Linked DNA regions of Homo sapiens: all the other regions are linked to region 2. Evidence: promoter capture Hi-C in human tissues and cell types (Jung and others, 2019). All regions are on one chromosome and are shown on one strand. Each heading gives the region's core, a stretch centred on a gene start or on the middle of the fragment in contact. The rest is flanking DNA. Distances are from core to core; before and after follow the strand shown. Region 1 holds the start of ANKFY1 (ankyrin repeat and FYVE domain containing 1). Region 2 holds the start of SPNS3 (SPNS lysolipid transporter 3, sphingosine-1-phosphate (putative)). Region 3 overlaps ANKFY1 (ankyrin repeat and FYVE domain containing 1).

What was found. The method cuts DNA at HindIII sites, captures the fragments that hold promoters and counts their contacts. A contact is called where the count stands out against the background at its distance.
Region 1: a contact is called between the fragment with the promoter of ANKFY1 here and the fragment with the promoter of SPNS3 in region 2, in 1 of the 25 tissues and cell types used here (thymus).
Region 3: a fragment that was not itself captured here is called in contact with the fragment with the promoter of SPNS3 in region 2 in 1 of the 25 tissues and cell types used here (lymphoblastoid cells).

What each region holds. Positions count from the first base shown.
Region 1 is chr17:4,262,699-4,265,398 of GRCh38, forward strand. It overlaps ANKFY1 (ankyrin repeat and FYVE domain containing 1), which reads right to left and starts at 1,281. Exons shown (of 25, transcript NM_001330063.2): 1 at 1,234-1,281. The coding sequence starts at 1,243. RefSeq lists a silencer at 578-727 and an enhancer at 1,378-1,467. The HindIII fragment of the contact is 4,200 bases long and covers 1-2,405 here.
Region 2 is chr17:4,432,492-4,435,191 of GRCh38, forward strand. SPNS3 (SPNS lysolipid transporter 3, sphingosine-1-phosphate (putative)) reads left to right here and starts at 1,449. Exons shown (of 12, transcript NM_182538.5): 1 at 1,449-1,675. The coding sequence starts at 1,477. RefSeq lists an enhancer at 1,511-2,165. The HindIII fragment of the contact is 23,733 bases long and covers 1-2,700 here.
Region 3 is chr17:4,210,110-4,212,809 of GRCh38, forward strand. All of the region lies in intron 4 of ANKFY1 (ankyrin repeat and FYVE domain containing 1), which reads right to left. Among named protein-coding and RNA genes, the nearest start is that of ANKFY1, 53 kb to the right of the region's middle. The HindIII fragment of the contact is 4,377 bases long and covers 1-2,700 here.

The DNA.
Region 1 (2,700 bases), core at 31-2,530, 170 kb before region 2:
ACCGCGCCACTGTACTCCAGCCGGTGGGACAGAGCGAGACCCTATCTCAAAACACACACACACACCCCCCAAAACCAACTGGGTGTCAGTCACAGCTATCTCTGTAACTTTGCCTAAATTCCTTTATCAATAAAGGCAAATACACACGCCAGGCCTCCTTCACGAGGTTATCTGAAGTCTAATGCAAATGAGAAAAGCCGACCAACTGTCAGGTGCTGCCCAAATCTAAGATCCATCAAGTGATGGGTTCAGTCAAAGCTCAAAACCAACAGGAAAGGTCGTGGCCAAGCACACTGCAGTCACTCAATAAACAAAGGTCAAATAAGGAATACTGTTCTCCAATAATGGGGTGAAGAGGAGAACCAGGCTGCCCAGATCCAACAATGTCCCTGCACGATTCCTGACAGGTAACTCCCCGTCTCTGGGCCTTCTTTCCCCCTACGTGTACAATAAGGCTTTGACAATGAAGGCTTCTAATTACTGCTACATTAAGACAGGCAGACTCTGAGAGACCAGAGTGCCTTAAGCTGCAATGTCATGAAAAGTGCACGAGACCAGAGGGTAGGCACTGGACGGGGAGGCAAAGGCACAGAGGTCTGGTTTGAGCAGCCCTCTTGTGAGCAGTGTGACCTTGGCCAACTCCCTTCCCGCAAACCCCTTCCTCCCGTCTTCATCTGTACGCCTGGCCTGAAGGCTGGGGTTGCAGCAGAGCCGGAGCCGCCAGTGCGCCCGCCTGAAGCGTGGGCCAGCTCGCTGCTGCCTCGCCCCCACCCCACCCCACCTCACCCCAACCCAGCCCGAGGAGACCCACGCTCTTCCGCAAGCGAGGGATGGACCCCTTCCGGATGCAGAACGTGCCAGGACAGCAGTTTCGATTTCCTAAGGAGAAGGCTTACTTCCCCCGGCGTCCCGGCACCGCCGGCAATCAAGAGCCTCCCGTGCTGCCCTCGGGGCCCCGCGGCTGCACGCAGCACCGGCGCGGGACCTGCCAGCCCGGCTCCGCAGCCGGCCGCAGTCCCGCGGGGTCGGCATCGCGGGAGGGACGTTGTCATAGGAACCGCGCTCCGGACCCCGGCCCGAGAAGCTCCGGAGAGGCTAGACAGGAAGGCTCGCGAGACCCGCGGAGCCCCCATGCAACCACGCCCGGCCTTCCCCTCCCACGGCAGCTTCGCACGGCCAGCAGCGCCCCCACAGCTCCGTGTCTTCCCGCGCGGCTCCACAAAAAAACCCTACCTTCCGCCATGTCTGGCCCGGCACTGCCTGCAACCTCGCGAGAAGTGCGCGGCTCAACCGGGGCGGTGCGGAACGGAATCACCAAGTCTCGCGAGAATCGCGGGAGGCGCGGCAAAAGGCGGAGCCGAGGGTAGGAAAGTGGGTGAATGAAAGCGGAGGGGGTTGCTGGACTCTGGGGGAAGCGGAGAGCCGGGTTTCTTTTTACCGGGTATTTTTGAGGCTCGAGATTTATTAAGCACTGACTGAGCCCTGTCATATTCCACGTCCTTGGCAGGGCACCGAAAAGGATGACACAACGAATGCAGACTACTCTGGAGAAGCTTGGCAATGAGAGGGTCGAGAGAGGGGGTTTGTTGGTCCTTAGGTTTGTAAAGAAAGGAGAGGCTGGGAGAAAGGAGTCAGTGGAGAGGTCCCTGGGGAGGTAGGATGCTCTGCATGCGATGCAGAACTCAGGAAAACGGATTAAATTTAGACTAGAGGCAGGTCACCTGTTATTCCACTAAAACGGTAGGAAACAAGAACATGCGTGCAGATATATAGGGGGGAAGAAAATCAGGGAGATCGTTTGATGACATCGATTTTATGGGTGAAGTTATGAGACAAGGAAGGAGACCAAGAAGAGCAAAGAAACTTTGGAAGAGGACGCTGAAGTTGGAAGGCCTGGTTTCATGTGCCTCATGTATGTGTTGATGGATCACTTTTTTCTAGAACTCAGCCACCAGGCTGCAGTAGCAGATATTTTGAATTATAGCATTTATCCAGGGCTTGGGATTGCATTGCCCAAAATAAATTGAGGGTGCTATGAGACGACAGCCCAGGCCATCAAACGTGGGATACAGACTGGCTAGGGACTGATGGAGGAGCCACGAAACTGCAGGTCTCTGATAATTGAAGGCCAGTGCAGTGCAGGCAATGTTGTGAGAGCTTGGTGGTTAAAGTGGCAAACAGGTTCATAGTGAAGTAGCACTAGGAGATGAGAAAAGTCCAGGACAGGCCGGGCGTGGTGGCTCACGCCTGTAATCCCAGCACTTTGGGAGGCCGAGGAGGGTGAATCACCTGAAGTCTAGAGCTCAAGACCAGCCTGGCCAACATGGTGAAACCCCGTCTCTACTAAAAATACAGAAATTAGCCGGGCGTGGTGGTGCATGCCTGTAATCCCAGCTACTCGGGAGGCTGGGGCAGTAGAATCGCTTGAACCCGGGAGGCAGAGGTTGCAGTGAGCCAAGATTGTGCCACTGCACTCCAGCCTGGGCAACAGAGTGAGACTCTGTCTCAAAAAAAAAAAAAAAAAGTCCAGGACAGAGCCACGGAATAGAGTGGCTGAAGTGGAAGTGAGAAGGCAGGAAAATTAGATGTTGGGATTTAGAGGTAGGAAAGGAAAGGAGCATCAGGAGCTAAAATCTTTGGTGAATGTGGGGAGGACTATACGATTAGTTAAGACAATTGCAAAATGGAGGGCTAAACAGT
Region 2 (2,700 bases), core at 199-2,698:
AGCAATTCTCCTGCCTCAGCCTCCCGAGTAGCTGAGATTACAGGCACCTGCCACCATGCCTAGTTAGTTTTGTATTTTTAGTAGAGACGGGGTTTCTCCACATTGGTCAGGCTGATCTTGAACTCCCGACCTCAGGTGATCCACCTGCCTCGGCCTCCCAAAGTGCTGGGATAACAAGCGTGAGCCACCACGCCTAGCTCCCTCAGTCTTTCTTAGTCTTTCATGACTCTGACATTTTTCAATATACAGTCCCTTTAAAGAAATAGTGTTTCTCAATTTGGGCTTGTCTGATGTTTTTTCATTTTAAAAATTAAAAAAAAAATTTTTTTTTTTGAGTTGGGGTCTTGCTTTGTCACCCAGCCTGGAGTGCAGTGGCACGAACATGGCTCACTGCAGCCTCGACTTCCCAGGCTAAGGCGATCCTTCCTACCTCAGCCTCCCAAGTAGCTGGGACTGTGGACGCACACCACTACACCCGGCTATTTTTTTTTAAAATTTTTTATTTTTTTGGTATTTTTGTAGCAATGGGGTTTCACCATGTTGCCCAGGCTGGTCACAAACTTCTGGGCTTGGATGATCCTCCTGTCTTGGCCTCCCAGTGTTAGGATTACAGGTGCGAGCCACCGCGTCTGGCTGATGTCTTCTCATGATGAGATTCCGGTTGTGCCTTCCTGGCTGGAATGCCACATAGATGATGCTGTGACCTGCGAAGACCTTCACATCTGGAGGCACACGACACCCTCCTGCCTCTCACAGGTGATTTATTTTAACCCCTTGGTCAAGATGTCTGATTCCTCTACTGTATAGTTACTCTTTTTCCTTTTGTTACTAATAAGCAATCTATCAAGAGATGCTTCGTGACCGTGCTGACACCCTCCCCCCTCACTGAAGTCTTCCCCCCAGATTTAGCCCCCACTGATGAGTTTTGCACACAGGCTGTCTTCTTGTAGGCAGCCCCCTCTGCTACCTTTGTTTTTCCGGGAAGGACCTTAGATCCTGGGTAGGTGCTCATCCTGCCTGGCAGTCGAGTGCAATGCTGCTGTCCTGGCCAATGCCCAGCCTTCCTCATTTGCCCCGGCTTCAAGGCATTGGTTCACAGTCCCGTACGGGCAGCTAGACCATCTCACAGCAAGCAGCACTCTGGGAGGCTCATCTCATTTCCTGCCCTGGAAGCTTCCCTTCCTCACTGCAGCCACTGAAGCTGCAGGCTAGATCAAGGGGACCACAGAGTTGTCCAGTCCCCAGGGTGGGGGTGCCAGGAGCCCTTGTCCTCCGTAGCAGGTCTCAGAGGCTGACGATGGGGAAATCGCACTGGTGAAGCTGCCGTGGGGTCAGGAGGAACCTGCGATAAGACGCCCAACAGTTAGGGCAGGTGCTTTGAGGTTTGGAGCCTGGGACCCCACAGGAAGTGACTTCGTGCTGAGCTAATGTTGCTTCATCCTGGCGCCAGTCTCAGGCCAAGAGCTGCAGGCTGGCATGGCTGGGGGGATGTCAGCGGAGTGCCCTGAGCCTGGGCCAGGAGGTCTGCAGGGCCAGTCCCCAGGGCCAGGCAGGCAGTGTCCCCCTCCCATCACGCCCACCTCCTGGAGCCTGCCCCCGTGGAGGGCCTACGTGGCTGCCGCCGTCCTCTGCTACATCAACCTCCTGAATTACATGAACTGGTTCATCATTGCAGGTGAGGAGGGGATGGCTACCCTGGGCAGTACCTGCTGCTGTGCCCACCAGCCAGGGGCTGCAGATCCATGGTGGCCTTCCAGCCATCACCCATCTTTCTGCTCCTGGGCCCATCTCTGGTGTTCTCACCTCTAGAGGTGGTTTTCAGCTGTGCTCGAATCGGGGAGGACCAACTGATGTTCCCAATCCAGCCTCAACTAAGAAGGGACACAGGCTGGGCATGGTGGCTCCCGCTTGTAATTCCAGCACTTTGGGAGGCTGAGGCAGGAAGATTGCTTGAGCCCAGGAGTTTGAGACCAACCTGGACAACATAGTGAGACTCTGTCTCTATTTATTTATTTTTTTTTTTGAGACAGAGTCTCGCTCTGTCGCCCAGGCTGGAGTGTAGTGGCGCAATCTCAGCTCACTGCAACCTCTGTCTCCCAGGTTCAAGTGATTCTCCTGCCTCAGCCTCCCGAGTAGCTGGGATTACAGGCGTGCACCACCACATCCGGCTAATTTTTGTATTTTGAGTAGAGGAGGAGTAGGGACGGGGTTTTACCATGCTAGTCAGGCTGGTCTCGAACTCCTGACCTCAGGTGATCCACCCGCCTCGGCCTCCCAAAGTGCTGGGATTACAGGCATGAGCCACCGTGCCCGGCCTTTTTTTTTTTTCTTGAGACAGAGTCTCAATCTGTTGCCCAGGCTGGAGTGCAGTGGCGCGATCTCGGCTCACTGCAACTTCTGCCTCCCAGGTTCAAGCGATTCCTATCTCAGCCTCCCGAGTAGCTGGGACTACAGGCGCATACCACCATGCCAGGCTAGTTTTTGTATTTTTAGTAGAGACGGGGTTTTGCCGTGTATGCCAGGCTGTCTCGAACTCCAGACCTCAGGTGATCCGCCTGCCTCGGCCTCCCAAAGTGTTGGGATTATAGGCATGAGCCCCTGCGCCCAGCCGAAACTCTGTCTCTATTTAAAAAATTAAAAATATTTTAGGGCTGGGTGCGGTGGCTCAGGCCTGTAATCCCAGCACTGTGGGAGGCCAAG
Region 3 (2,700 bases), core at 63-2,562, 220 kb before region 2:
TTTAAAAAGTACTAGAATTTCATTATAATATTTCATTGCTCCATTCTGGTCAGAATCAAAATAACATGCAAATAAACTGATTAAGCATAATACCCCAACTGCCTTAACAGCACACATACGACACCCGCTGATCACACAGACAGGTAATTGTCGAATCAAGCACAAAATGGATCAACCTCTGTCCTTCAAAGAAAATTTAACTGTGTGGAACACCACTTTAGTTCCCACAACTGCATGATGCAAACAGTGTGTCTTAGAAATAGTTTCAAATACGAGGCTCTATGCTCAATAATTAACACCTCCTTAAAAGCTCTCCCGGCTGGGTGCAGTGGCTCACGCCTGTAATCCCAGCGCTTTGGGAGGCCGAGGTGGGTGGATCACCTGAGGTCGGGAGTTCGAGACCAGCCTGACCAACATGGAGGAACCCCATCTCTACTAAAAATACAAAATTAGCCGGCTGTGGTGGCGCATGCCTGTAATCCAAGCTACTCGGGAGGCTGAGGCAGGAGAATCGCTTGAACCCAGGAGGCGGAGGTTGCAGTGAGCTGAGATCGTGCCATTGCACTCCGGCCTGGGCGACAAAGGCAAAACTCTGTCGCAAAAAAAAAAAAAAAAAAAAAAAAGCTCTCCTATAAGATGAATGTGTATGATATGTGAATTATAACTCAATAAAGCTGTATTTTAAAAGCCCCACCTAGGATCTACTGAGGTCAGGAGCTCGAGACCAGCCTTACCAACAAGGTGAAACCCTGTCTCTACTAAAAATACAAAAATTAGCCGGGCATGGTGGCAGGCGCCTGTAGTCCCAGCTACTCAGGAGGCTGAGACAGGAGAATTGCTTGAACCCAGGAGGCGGAGATTGCAGTGAGCCGAGATTACGCCACTGCACTCCAGCCTGGGCAGCGGAGTGAGACTCCATCAACAACAACAACAAAAAAAATAAAAAGAAAAAAAGAAAAAAGAAAAAACTCACCTAAAATATCTATAATGTTTTGAAAAAAACAGCCAAATCAGCCAGGTGTGGTGGCTCACACCTATAATCCTAGCTCTTTCAGAAGCCAAGGCGGGCAGATTGCCTGAGCTCAGGAGGTCGTGACCAGCCTGGGCAACATAGCGAAACCCCGTCTTTACTACAAATACAAAAACAAATTAGCTGGGCTGCCTGTAGTCCCAGATACTGGGGAGGCTGAGGCACAAGAATCACGTGAACCCGGGAGGCAGAGGTTGCAGTGAGCTGAGACGGTGCCACTGCACTCAAGCCTGGGTGACAGAGCAAGACTCGTCTCAAAAAAAAAAAAAAATTAGAAAAAATAGCCAAATCATAGTACACCCCCCACACCAAAAAAATCAGATTTCTACTGTAACAACAAAACCACAGTACACCAAAATAGAGAAAAACTGGCTACAATGGATGTCCTCATAAAGCCGCATAATAATAAAAACAAGACTCTTTCAGAATCATTAATAAGGAAACACGGCCAGGTGCAAAGGCTCACACCTGTAATCCCAGCACTCTGGGAGGCCAAGGCAGGAGGAGTACTTGTGGCCACGAGTTCAAGACCAGCCTGGGCAACACAGCAAGACCCTGTCTCTACCAAAACAATTGAGAAATTAGGCAGGCATGGTAGCATGTGCCTGTAGTCCCAGCTACTCAGGAGGCTGAAGTAAGAGCCCAGGAGTTCAAGGCTGCGGTAAGAGCCCAGGAGTTCAAGGCTGCGGTGAACCGTGATCGCACCACTGTACGCCTGCCTAGATGACAGACAGAGACTCTGTCTCAAAAAAAAAACAAAACAAAAACAAACAAACAAACAAACAAAAAACATCAACTACATCAGAGAAGAGAGAGCTGAAGGCAGGCAAATAGGTCTCTGGTAGCAAAAGCAGGACCACATTGTAGTCTGGAAGATATGGCATTGGAAAGACCACACTTCCTCTATGCCAGAATTCCTGGAAGCCTTAGGGAGTCTCCCATGAGACCAGGCCCATGGGGAAAAGGTGGCCAGGGAACAGCCCTTCACCTCCCTCGCCTCCACTGCTCCCTCCAAATCAGGTTCACCTCCAAGGGCAGTCACAGACGACTAGTATGGTTTCACGAGATTTCCTGACATCCACCATTGTTTTCCCTGCCAGCAGCCTCCACCAAAACTCTTTTCTAACCACAAAGGCAGAATGTGGTGGACAGAGCAAGATAAACAATGAGGTAAAAAAGACCTGAGTGGAGACCCATTACATTTTAGGGGCCAAATTACTTGAGCTCTCTGTGCCCCTCTCTCCTCCTCTATAAAATAAAGATGTTACTCTACTTCAGATATTTGAGGAATACTTGTGTGTTTGTCAAGATGGAGGAGAACTAGTTACACTCAGCACAGCTTGAGGTATGTAGTAAATATGCTCGGAAGTTTGAGGTCCCTCTACTAGCCGTTCTCGTCTCTAAAACCTGAAATTCCTTTACTAAGGAAAAATCACAAAAGGAAATCACTTAATTTTAATAATCCACATTAGTGGATTTCAGTACTGTTAACCATAACTAGCTAGCAGATAATTCCCAATCTTAACAGATGGGCTTTAGGTAACAGACGTAGAAAAAGACCATGGGAATGGGTGATGGCAGAAGAAAGAAGGAAGGTCATGAGAAAGACCTGGGCAGAATGCAGAACACACTTTTTTTTTTTTTTTTTTTGAGACGGAGTCTACCTTTGT